Linked DNA regions of Homo sapiens: regions 1 and 2 are each linked to region 3. The links are contacts of gene promoters, found by promoter capture Hi-C in blood cells and fetal thymus (Javierre and others, 2016). All regions are on one chromosome and are shown on one strand. The core of a region is centred on a gene start or on the middle of the fragment in contact, and the rest is flanking DNA. Distances in the headings are between cores, read along the strand shown. Region 1 has its middle 730 kb from the start of VRK2. Region 2 has its middle 690 kb from the start of VRK2. Region 3 holds the start of CCDC85A (coiled-coil domain containing 85A).

Region 1 (3,699 bases), core at 195-2,694, 1.1 Mb after region 3:
ACCTCCAATGAATTTGAGGAACTCCAAACTCTAATCAAAGTCTCAGCATCTTCTTGTCTTCTGAAACAACTTTGATCCTATACATCTTGAATTTTCTAAGGTTCCTACATGTCCTGTAATGATGCATGAATAAAAATAAAAGTACCCATCCCCCCTTTCATTGCCTAATGAATTCAACACATTCAACAACCAGATTTTTGAGGAAGATAAATTAGGTGCAGCTATAAGTTCATTTCAGGGCTGACTGTTGATTGAAACATGAAGGATACATTTTCAAAGTCAGTACTGAGAGAGAACTGATTTATGTTACTTCATCAAAAGATAAACAAGGTGAGATTTTACTCATTAATACGACATAGGTTTAATCTCTTTTCTACTTGAGCTGCAAACTATTTCTAAGTCCTAATGAAACTAGTTTAATGGTATTTTTAGGATTGCAAATGTATTTTCACTACCAGGATCTAAGTTAAAGAAAACCTATCTTGAAAATATGATTTTCTAAAATCTTGCAATTTCTGGAATTTAGATCTAGTTTATATATATATATGTGTGTGTGTGTGTGTATCTATATCTGTATATGTGTGTGTATATATATATCTGTATATGTGTGTATACACACAGATACACACACAAGTATAATGTATATGCATGTATAAACAATAAAGAATATATTGACCTTCCAACTTCTTTAAGTTTTTCTTCCTCCAGCAAAGAGAAAGCTGACACATATTAGTCGCTATGACTACTCATTAATTATAGTATATAACTGGAACTCATCAATTGTTTTGCCCCATTTGCTTACCCAAATGGCTAAAATACTGGACTCTCTGATTCCTTGCAAGATCAAATCTATATTCGATCTTGGATTATTTTTACAAAGTAGTCACAGAGCTCAATAGGATAGCAAAAACTAGCTGAATTTTATATGGACTCTGGTTTATAGGATATCCTGGCCCAGCATTAAAATATCTTGTGGATAGTAATTAAAACTACACAACTTTCTTAGTTTGGAGTTCTAAAATATGCTTGATTGATAGTATCTTAGCAGAATATGTGCCTTTTAACTTAATATCTGATTTAACCTGATAATCAAAATTGTCCCAATTTTTCAAAATATTACTGAGATAAATATCTTGACAGTCCAGTAGGAACCCATGGACTTAATTTCAAGTATTAAAAATGTAATATATAACTGAGAATCTTATAGAAGTTAATCTCATTTATCATTCAGTATAATATTTCCTTCTACACAATTCTTCGAGATGGTTTTGCATTCGTATAAGCTCCTTACCTACCCTGACTGCAGGGTAGCTTTTAAGTTGAGTATCTGTCCCAGATAGTCTAGGATTATCTATCTCCTACTACCCTGAAACACAGTAACTTGCTTTGATCTGGTCTTCCTCGTTTTCGTCTTGTGCCATGCATCTGAATTCTACATCTTTACCCGTCCTTTTCAGGATCATATCTTATTTGGACTCTTCACATGGCCTTTATTCATTTTTATTAATATATACCTGTAATAAATAAGTTTAGAATATCAACTTGACTAGATTAAGGGATGCCTAGGTATCTGGTAAAGCAGTATTAGCAGGTGTGTCTTGTGAGAGTGTTTCCACAGGAGATGGCACGTGAGCTGGTGGACCAAGTGGGGAATATCCCACCTCACTATGGGCCAGGAACCATCCAATAGGCTGGGAGCCCTGATAGAACAAAAACACAGTGGAGAGGAGAATTCACTCTTTGTTTTCTGAAGTTGGGACAGCCTTCTTCTCTGGCCTTTGGATATGGGCATCAGAATGCCAGGTTTTTGTTCTTTGGACTCCTGGACTTGTACGAGCATGCCCTCACCTCCTGCTCCTACCACATTCACAGGCTTTTGGCCTTGGGCTCAGAGTTACACAATTATTTCTCTGATTCTAAGGGTTTTGGTCTTGAACAGCCATGCTACCAGCTTCCCTGGCTTCCCAGTTTTCAGACAACATGCTATGAGACTTCTTAGCCTACATAGTCATGTGAACGAATCCCCTTAATCAATCTCCTCTCTATGATCTATGTATCTATCTATTTACCTATCTATCTAACTACCTATCTATCTATGTATCTATCTGTTTACATATCTATATACTATTCATTGGGTCTTTCTGGAAAATCCTGAATAATAAATTGATTACAAATTTTACCAATATAAACAATATGTAGTATACAATTTACAGATGATAAAATATTTAATACTGCTTCTTGCAAATTTTACATAGCCAGTTGATTCTAACAGAATTATTTTATTACTTTTCCAGCTCGAATGAGGTATAATTGACAAATAAAAGTTGTATTCATTTAAGATATACAAGTTTATGATCTGATATACATGTACATTGTGAAATAATCACCACAATCAAGCTAATTCAAGCTAATTAACATATACATTACTTCACATCATTGCAATTCTCTTCTTGTTCTTGTTGTTCTTCTCTGTGTGTGTGTCTGTGGGTGGAAAGAATATTTAATAGCTACATGATTTTTAAATCAACTCAGTACCTGCATCTTATATTACATCCAGATTCATGCTCTGCAGCTTGACATAAACTCTACCTCACAACTGCATGCCCTCAAAATCTGTCCCCCAAGTAATCATCCTCTCCTTGGCTTTTAAAAACTTATTTAAGCAGCTATTGCATCTTCATTTAACTCTGTCTTCTACAGATAAAATATCCACAGTAGCTTCAATGATTCCTCATAAGCCACATAATATAGTGCAATGGTTTCAAACTGTATTGAAAAGATGACTAGGAGTCATGCAGAGCTAATTTTCCATCACCCAGGAGTAGAATGGTGAGGGTTTGGCAGAGTCAGCATATATGTGGCTCTGTGCTCTGCATTTTTACTTCAAGCACAGGTTGCACAGCTCTGATAGTATTTGTTTTAAATACAACATACCTATTAGGCATGTTTGAAGATTTCATTAAACAAACAGGTAGGCTATAAACTATTCCCAAACAATAAGCTTAAATTTTAAAAGAATAGATTTTGGTGTCTGACAGACCTGAATTTAAAACACAGCTCAACACTTAGTAACCACTTACCTTGTATTACCTTAGATAGTTTAAGCCCATAGACACTCAAGTTTTTTAACTGTACCATTGGGAAAACAATCCATAATTTATATGTTGTAGGGACTAGGAAATTTATTTGTGTTTTTAACACACTGATAAAAAACATTTTCATATAATAAATGCTTGAAAAATTATTACTTGAAATTAAGGTTTCGGCCATACTGAATCAATGAGTGTCTCACTTATGCTATAAAAATTTATAAAACTGAACAAAATCTATGAAGAAACACTTTTCAAGTATTGAACAACATATCATGCAGTGGTTTGATCATTCAAAAAACTAAAACACATTAGAAGAGCTATACACTACTTACCTTACTATTGGACAGGGGAAAAATTCAAAACTAAGTGCAGGGAAGTCGAGCTCAAATGAAGGGATCAGTGGTTTTACTAGTTGGAGAAAAAGAAATCAATGTTCATGACTGCTGAGGTGATTGGAATTTGCAGTTGCAGGCATTGGAATGGAGGAATATTCACAGGGAAGGAGTTTCAGATGTGTGCCTTTAGTTGTTTTTCACTCAGCCAAATACTAATCTAACAGAGCAAAAGACCATGTTAGAGAACCATAGTGGAAAAGCTGAAGTGAGAC
Region 2 (4,202 bases), core at 1,538-4,037, 1.2 Mb after region 3:
TTAATGCCTTTTTCTCTCTTTTTTTTTAAAAAAAACTTTAAGTTCTGGGATACATGTGCAGAATGTGCAGTTTTGTTACATAGGTATACATGCACCATGGTAGTTTGCTGCACCTATCAACCCATCATCTAGGTGGGTTTTTTTTTTTTCTCTTTTTTTGAGATGGAGTCTCGCTCTGTCGCTAGGCTGGAATACAGTGGCACGAGATTTTGGCTCACTGCAATCTCCACCTCCTGGGTTCAAGTGATTCTCCTCATTATCTAGGTTTTATGCCCTGCATGCATTAGGTATTTGTCCTAATGCTCTCCCTCTCCTTTCCACCTACCCACCGACAGGCCCTGGCGTATGTTGTTCCCCTCCCTGTGTCCATGTGTTCTCATTGTTCATCATACATGTGCATGTGTCTTTATAGTAGAATGATTTATAATCCTTTGGGTATATACCCAGTAATGGGATTGCTAGGTCAAATGGTATTTCTGGTTGTAGATCCTTGAGGAATCGCCACACTGTTTTCCACAATGGTTTAACTAATTTACACTCCCACCAACAGTGTAAAAGCGTTCCTATTTCTCCACAGCCCCACCAACATCTATTGTTTCCTGAATTTTTAATAATCACCATTCTGACTGGCATGAGATGCTGTCTCATTGTGGTTTTGATTTGCATTTCTTTAATGATCAGTGATGATGAGCTTTTTTTCTTATGTTTGTTGGCCACATAAATGTCTTCTTTTGAGAAGTGTCTATTCATATCCTTGCACACTTTTTGTTGGGGTTGTTGGTTTTTTTCTTGTAAATTTGTTTAAGTTTCTAGTAGATTTTAGGTATTAGAACTTTATCAGATGGGTAGATTGCAAAAATTTTCTCCCATTCTGTAGGTTGCCTGTTCACTCAGATGACAGTTTCTCTCACTGTGCAGAAGCTCTTTAGGTTAATTAGAGCCAATTTATCAATTTTGGCTTTTATTGAAATTGCTTTTGGTGTTTTTGTCATGAAGTCTTTTCCCATGCCTACATCCTGTATGGTATTGACTAAGTTTTCTTCTAGGGTTTTTATGGTTTGGGGTTGTATATTTAAGTTTTTAATCCATCTTGAGTTATTTTTTGTATAATACGTAAGGTAGGAGTCCAGTTTCAGTGTTCTGCATATGGCTAGCCAGTTTTCCCAGCATCATTTATTGAATAGGGAATCCTTTCCCCATTGCTTGTTTTTTTCAGGTTTGTTGAAGATCAGATGGTTGTAGATGTGTGGTGTTATTTCTGAGGTCTCTGTTCTGTTCCATTGGTCTGTATATCTGCTTTGGTACCAGTACCATGTGGTTTGGTTTACTGTAGCCTTGTAGTGTAGTTTGAAGTCAGGTAGTGTGATGTCTCCAGGTTTGTTATTTTTGCTTAGTTTTTCAGTCAATAAATAGGCAAAAAAATTAATAAATAATTCAATCAAGAAAAAAAGTACAAGTATAGTAAATAATTATTCTTCATTTTCCAAGGTAAGGTGAAATCAAAAATACAACGTTAAGAAGTCACTTACTCAATTTGATACAGCTCCAACAATTTCAAGGGGATTCAATGTTGAAGGAAGCAATTTTCTTTATTTAATCCCATTTTCTCTTATTTTTCTTGTCATTTTTTTTTTGTTTACTCTATGATCATCTTGACAAATGCCAACTTTTACATAAATGTTTGCATTTCAAGCGATGAGAGGAAGATTAAGGCATCTATATGTTCTCTAGAAAGCCAACCTATATATACTAGTGTGGAAATAAGTAGCTAAGATTTACCAAGAAACAAATACAATAATTTCTTAAAATATAAAGCTTCCTGAGATTATATTTGGAAATAAAAAGTAAAATATGCCTTTTGTTTTTAAAAGAACTACATGTTGCTGATGGGAAATCAGTATTTCTGAAAGGTAGAGTGTTAGTTATTTTGGAATGCTTATGGCAATGATGATCACATTGACATTGGTTTGTCTACTTCCAGGTTGGGAGCACGTATAAGATGGGAAAGGTAATTATAAGGCCTTTGAGGTAATTTATTCTTACCCTTTAATGTCTGATAATACATTAATGACGCAGTTAAAATCTCTAGGCTAAAAAGCAAGTTTAGGTTATATCACAACCAAAGTTAGTAAAGAAAAGCCAAATAGAGTAATCTTAACAGAATTTACTCCTCTTACATGACTCTACACTTAGAGAAGGTAGCATTCAATATTTTTTAAAATAAATCCGCTAAGTTTTCCTACTTTATATGCCCTGTTTTGCTTCTCTGTTTTAATAACCGAATTTCTCAAATATTATCAAGGGAAATTTTAAATTTGTGTGTTTTGGAAAGAAATTTAGCTCGTATGTACTCCTGAGAATCTGATTCTCAGTGAACTTTATGTCCTTTGCCAGTTCTATCTATCTATCTATCTATCTATCTATCTACCTATCTATTGTCTATTTAATTTATTTTATTATTTTAGGTTCGGGGGTACAGATGCAGGTTTGTTACATGGGTAACTTGTGTGTCACTGAGGCTTGGTATATGAATAAACCTGTTACCCACATAGTGAGCATGGAGTTTAAATCTCTTAGAAAATACCTAGAGAACAGTACTCAAGTACATTTTGCTTCTTGTACAGCATACACTTTTGCTTTTACGAGCTATATATACAAATGAACTTTCTTTGGAAATAGTTTGACAGATACCTTAGCTTTTTCCATTTTGAGGAGGTAGTAGAAAAAGTTTTCAGAAGAAGGCAAGACAGTCAAAGGGCTTTCAGAGGAAAAAGCACATTTACATACTCTGACATATCTTGTAAGTGCAAATTACTAGCAAGCATAATTATCATCTTGGAATTCATATCTATTTGGTAGTATAGGAAAATTTTAAAAAGAGAGTGAAAAAGTAAAGTTCTACTTGTAAGGAAAAAAGAATGAGAAAAGAGTGATGTTAAGTGTGAAAGGACTTGACTACATGTCTATAATTTAACCTCAGATGTTCCAAAAATGTGAGATGTTATCTAAATAAATGCTCTTTGGTTTTATGATATTCAGTTGACTTGAGAGTACGTGGAAATGTTCTCAATTTCCTCTGCTTAAAACATTTTAACTTGTCAAATTATTATTCCTTTTTGAGACAGAATTTCACTCTATTGCCCAGGCTGGAGTGCAGTTGTGGGATCATGGCTCACTGCAGCCTTGAATTCCCAGGCTTAAGTGATCCTCTTGCTTCAGCCTTCCAAGCAGCGGGGACTACAGGCATGCACCACCATATCCATCTACTTACTTTTTTTTTTTTTTTTTTTTTTAGAGAGAGGTTCTCACTATGTTGCCCAAGCTGGTCTTGAACTCCTGGCTCAAGCAATCTTCTTGCCTCTGCCTCCCAAACTGTTAGGATTGCAGACATGAGCCACTGCACCAAACCATAATTATTATAACTAAACAGCAAAAACTACTTGCATATCATTTTTGTAAAAAATGTAAATTTTCTACAGTAAAAATACAGATAAAACATCAAAATTTAATTTTAAATACTGAATTTTTCAACACTGGAAAACTCAAGCTATTAAGGGAATATCTGTATTTAACTTTCAAAAAAACCCTTATTTTTCAGACTTGGAAAATAATATCTGCATTTCTTTCAATGTGCAGGCTATCCTGTATTTATAATTTTATTATCTCCTGAAAACTGAAAGTAAATCTACTGAATGCAGTGCTTCTGCAATGACTAGTGTCAGTGGATTCAGGTGGGTATGATTATTCTAAGGGTTACCCTAAGCTTAACGTTATAATAATGGAGAGTTTTTCAGTTGTACTTGGTTTCTTAACATTCTCTGATATCTAACCTATGATAAGGAGTCAAATTTAACTTAATGGTTTAGTTAAGAAAAGAAACAAGGATACCCTAGAGGAAAAATAAATAAATAAACACTTCAATAAGCTCTTGTTCCAGTTGCATCCCTGGTTCCCCACAGCACTGAGCATGACGAGGTATTGTCCACTTTCTAAGCTCCCAGTTTCATTTGTTATAAATATGGAGTGAAAAGAGAGCTACCCTGAGAGTTAGAAATTATTTTTTGTTCTCACCATAAACTAGGACTTTCTAACTTTGCTTGGGCCTATGTTATTTCTGCAGAATGTACTTAATAGCTTCAGACAACACAATTTCAGTTGCTCTGTATAGTAATAACTAGTTTCATATTGAGCATTGTAAATTA
Region 3 (3,986 bases), core at 78-2,577:
TCAGAGGAAACATTCACCAATGGAAGTTGGCTAAAGTAAATGCTCTGAGAAAAGGAAGGTCTGGGGCCTACAGTTAGGAAGAAACCTGTCTAAAGTTTAGTTAAGCTGAGGGGAATGTTAAGGCCATTTGGTCACCGTAAGCAGTACCACATTTCCTTGCCTCTCCCGGGAGCCAGGTCTCAGTGTCCCCAATAGGGGACACGCACTGACCGGCGGGTGAAGGGACTGATTTTGATTATCATCCTACCAGATAGAGATTATTCCCTCTGCACCCGGGTTAACTGAAACCCGGTGGGGGTAGATCCTTGCCATTTTCCGGCCCTGTACCCCACTGGAAATAACATGCGGTGGTCAAGGGCATCCACCTCTTTAGGCAAAAGCATGTTTTCAGCCCAGAGACGATTCCACCCAACTTTACAAGAGGATAGCCCAAAGATAGAAGCCAGGGACTCAGACTTCCTCCTTCCAGAAATAACCATCATAAAAAAGCCGACCCAGTAAACGCCTGGCAGCCTGCGGCATAGAAGAAAATGGAAATCTCCTTGGCTGGCATTTCAGCTTGCCTGAGGGGGCTTGCTTTGCTCCGAGGGGAGGTGACTGTGCTGACCTTAAAATCCAGGTTTCAGGAAGCAGGAGATGAAGGTATTTTATTTTCGCCTAAAGGCTTTGATATTTTTCAAATAAAAATTTAAAAGATCCAGTACCTTCTCCCGAAGCTTCTTCATAGAGTAGTGGATTTTTAGAAAACACAAAGGCCTAGGGGTGGGGCGAGAGTGGGGGGTGGGGATGGGTAGCCCCATAAGAGCAGTGCCCTGACGCCTCTTTTCGCCCTTTTCAGACCATTTGGATTTTCTTAAGCTGCCCCTTTCCCCAACCCCCGTTTTTGCCATTTGCCTCTCCTCCCATTCTCCAAAGTGCAAATAACTGGTTATCCCTCAGGTCCTGCTACCCCATCTTTCCTGATCCCCGATCCCTCCAAATACGAAGCACCTCGCATTTGGGTCAGCAGCTGTTTCCCCTGCCTGGTGACAAGGCCGGTGTGCAGAGGGCAGAGGAGGGAGCTTCTTCCGCCACACGGTGGCGCGCGCGAGCCTCCCAAAGACCGGGCGGCCACAGCTCCTCACCTTCTCCCCATTCCAGCCCCACCCGCCCGGGCGCAGAAAGAGCCGCGCCCCCAGCCCTCCCGGGCAGGACAGCCGGGAGCGCACCTCGAGGGCCCGGGCAGCGGTCGAGTGGCAGCTGCGTCCAGCCCATGCGGGAGCTGCTGCGGGTTACGGGTGGCCCCAGCTCCAGGCTCCTCCTCCAGCCGGTCCCCCACCCTCCACCCCTTCTCGACTCCGCTCTGCAAATCGAAGGCTTTCCGGAGCAGCCTAGGAGCGGCCGCGGGCGCAGCGAAGGCGGCAGGAGGAGCGCAGCAGCCTTCGGGCAGCCGCGGCGGCGTCGCTAGAGCAGCCGGGGAGGCGCCGCGGTGCCCGGCGCGCCCTCCAAGCTAGGAGAGGGGAGAAGCCGGGGGCTGCAGCTGGGCAAGGGGGAGGAAAGTGCGTGTGCGTGCACGCCTGTGTGCAGGGCAGAGAGTGCGGGGGGCGACAGTCTCGGCTTAGGGCGGAGGAGAGGGCAGGGGAACGGCGGTGCAGCTCCCCCGCTGTCCCCGAGGATTTCCCGCGGCAGCCCCGGGCTCCCCAGTGCCCCTCACCATGGACTTGCGCGGAGTTGGGACGGGCCTCGGCAGCAGCAAGCGGCTGGCTGCCGGGCCCTGGGGGAGCGCGGGCGCGCGCGCGGGGATGGCGAGGTAGGATGGCCACCCAGCGCGACCCCCGCCGCCCCAACCCAGCGGCCCCTGGGCGGTGCCGCTGACTCGCCGGAGCGCACAGGGGTGTGGGCGGAGGCGGCCTCGCCGCGCCCGCGCCTTCGGGAGTCGCCTCGCCTCTTCCACCCACTTGCACCTGCCACCCCGCGGATACCATGTCGAAGGCGGCCGGAGGCGCGGCGGCGGCTGCGGCGGCGGCGGAAAGTTGTTCCCCAGCCCCGGCCGGCTCGTCCGCGGCCCCGCCCGCGCCGGTGGAGGACCTGTCCAAAGTGTCGGACGAGGAGCTGCTGCAGTGGAGCAAGGAGGAGCTGATCCGCAGCCTGCGGCGCGCCGAGGCGGAGAAGGTGAGCGCGATGCTGGACCACAGCAACCTCATCCGCGAGGTGAACCGCCGCCTGCAGCTGCACCTCGGCGAGATCCGCGGCCTCAAGGTGAGCGCGGGCCAGGTGGGGAGGCGCGGCGCGGCTGGGAGCGGGGTGCCCCGAGGAGGAGGCGGGGCCAGGCAAACTTTCCCTCCCTCCCTCAACAGGTGACCCTCCCCTTCTCCCGGTCGGCACCCCCTACCCCCAGTCCCCAGCCCCTGTGTAACTTTTCCAAACTTCGGAGGCGTCTGCTCCCCTCCTCTCCCCAACACGGGGCGCTCCACTGTCTGGCTGTTCGGGGAGGCGCTGAGGACGCTGGAAAGCAGGGAGGGAGGTGAAGGGCACGCGAACCTTTCATTTCTTAGGGAGGCTGGAAAATCTGTGCCTGGGGAGCCGGGTTTCAGTCAGTTAGGCGGAAAGGCCAGTGAGGGGGTGAATCCAGGGGATCTTCGCCTTGGAGGGTCGGGAATGCGGCTGCTCTGGGCCAGCAGCTCTTGGGCGGGCAGAGGGCGAGGAAAGGGCGCCACTGCCAGGGAGAGCGGCTGGCGGGGCGCCCGGGAGAAGCAGCGGGCGCCACCCTCAGAGCAGTCTTGTGTCACCGGGTACATAGGAGTTCAAGCTCTGCCTTCACGTCTTCTCCCAATTCCTGTGCTTTCCCTCTCCCGGAGTTTGGAAGGCATCCCCTGGAGTTGCCTTACTCCCCTTCCCACTTAACCCCAGGTTGACTGGGGGAAAGAGGAGGAGCAAAGAGACTCAGTATGGAAGGAGCAGCATTTTGACAGAGTACCCCAAGTGTTGGTCAGTGATGGTTTCTTTCTGAGCCAGCCCCCCTGCCACCCTCTTCTAGGAAAAGAAGGGAAACGTACCCCAAGCCCACTAACTTTCTTTTCTCCTTGGAGAGCGCCGGGTCTGCGAGGAGTGTGCCTGCCCAGCTGCAGTACACTAGTGGCCGGGAACCGCCCTGCTGGCGAGCACCACAAACTTCCTCTCCTTCCAGCTAGCGCTGGTGCCTCCTGGTATTCCTTCCTCTCATTGTTCTGCTTTGTTTGTAGGAAGCCAGACACAAACGAAATCACTGCAGGGACTTCAGGGAGCAAATTCCCGAAGGCACAAGCTGTTCTTTTCCCCTTTCCACTCCTATCCCCACATATCAGACAGTAGATGCTGTTCCGGAATTGCCTCAGTGCTCCAGCTCTGGGATTCTGGGGCAAGAAAGAGTGGGAAGAGTGGAATGCTCAAGGCTCACCTATGTGCTGGGCCCAGTTCAGGTGGAGATGGCCGTCTCCCGAGGCCGAAAGTCATTGTCATATAGTCCCTAGAGTGGGTGCAGGTAGGAAGATTCCTCCAGTCAGAAAAATGCCAAGGCTTACTCTCTCCTGTGGTTGAATTCATTACTAACAGAGTGTTTATTAAGTGCCAGTCTCTTTGGGGAATAGAGGCAGGCTAGTGTAGTAGGAAGATGATCTCAGAGGTGGGTTTGAATTCTAGAAACCTCATTTGCCAGGAGGGTGAGCTTGGGTAATTACTTTCTCAGATCCTCCTTTTATTCACCAATACAATGCAATGATAATAACTTTCTGAGGGTGTTATGGCAATAAGTTATGATTATGTAGGGGAAGGTTTAATACTTGACTATAAAATGGTAGTTACTGTCATCAGGAAAGGACTTACAAATCTATGGCTGTGTGTCCCCAAGATTTTGGTTTCTTAGGCAGAGCTGGACAAGGGGGCATTAGTTTGTCATCCTCTAATTTGAGTTTCTTCCATGGTCTGAACAATAGTGTGATTTAGAAGAGTTGGAAGAGTTATTATTAAAT

What was found. The method cuts DNA at HindIII sites, captures the fragments that hold promoters and counts their contacts. A CHiCAGO score of 5 or more calls a contact.
Region 1: a contact is called between a fragment that was not itself captured here and the fragment with the promoter of CCDC85A in region 3, in 1 of 17 cell types (M0 macrophages). The highest score is 5.4, in M0 macrophages.
Region 2: a contact is called between a fragment that was not itself captured here and the fragment with the promoter of CCDC85A in region 3, in 2 of 17 cell types (M0 macrophages and M2 macrophages). The highest score is 10.9, in M0 macrophages.

The regions. Positions count from the first base shown.
Region 1 is chr2:57,312,040-57,315,738 of GRCh38, forward strand. No RefSeq gene overlaps it. Among named protein-coding and RNA genes, the nearest start is that of VRK2, 730 kb to the right of the region's middle. The HindIII fragment of the contact is 3,110 bases long and covers 1-2,999 here.
Region 2 is chr2:57,352,808-57,357,009 of GRCh38, forward strand. No RefSeq gene overlaps it. Among named protein-coding and RNA genes, the nearest start is that of VRK2, 690 kb to the right of the region's middle. The HindIII fragment of the contact is 1,948 bases long and covers 1,814-3,761 here.
Region 3 is chr2:56,182,663-56,186,648 of GRCh38, forward strand. It overlaps CCDC85A (coiled-coil domain containing 85A), which reads left to right and starts at 1,328. Exons shown (of 6, transcript NM_001080433.2): 1 at 1,328-2,238. The coding sequence starts at 1,963. LOC100129434 (a long non-coding RNA gene) reads right to left here and starts at 3,108. Exons shown (of 3, transcript NR_125368.1): 1 at 3,036-3,108. RefSeq lists a silencer at 998-1,327. The HindIII fragment of the contact is 6,654 bases long and covers 715-3,986 here.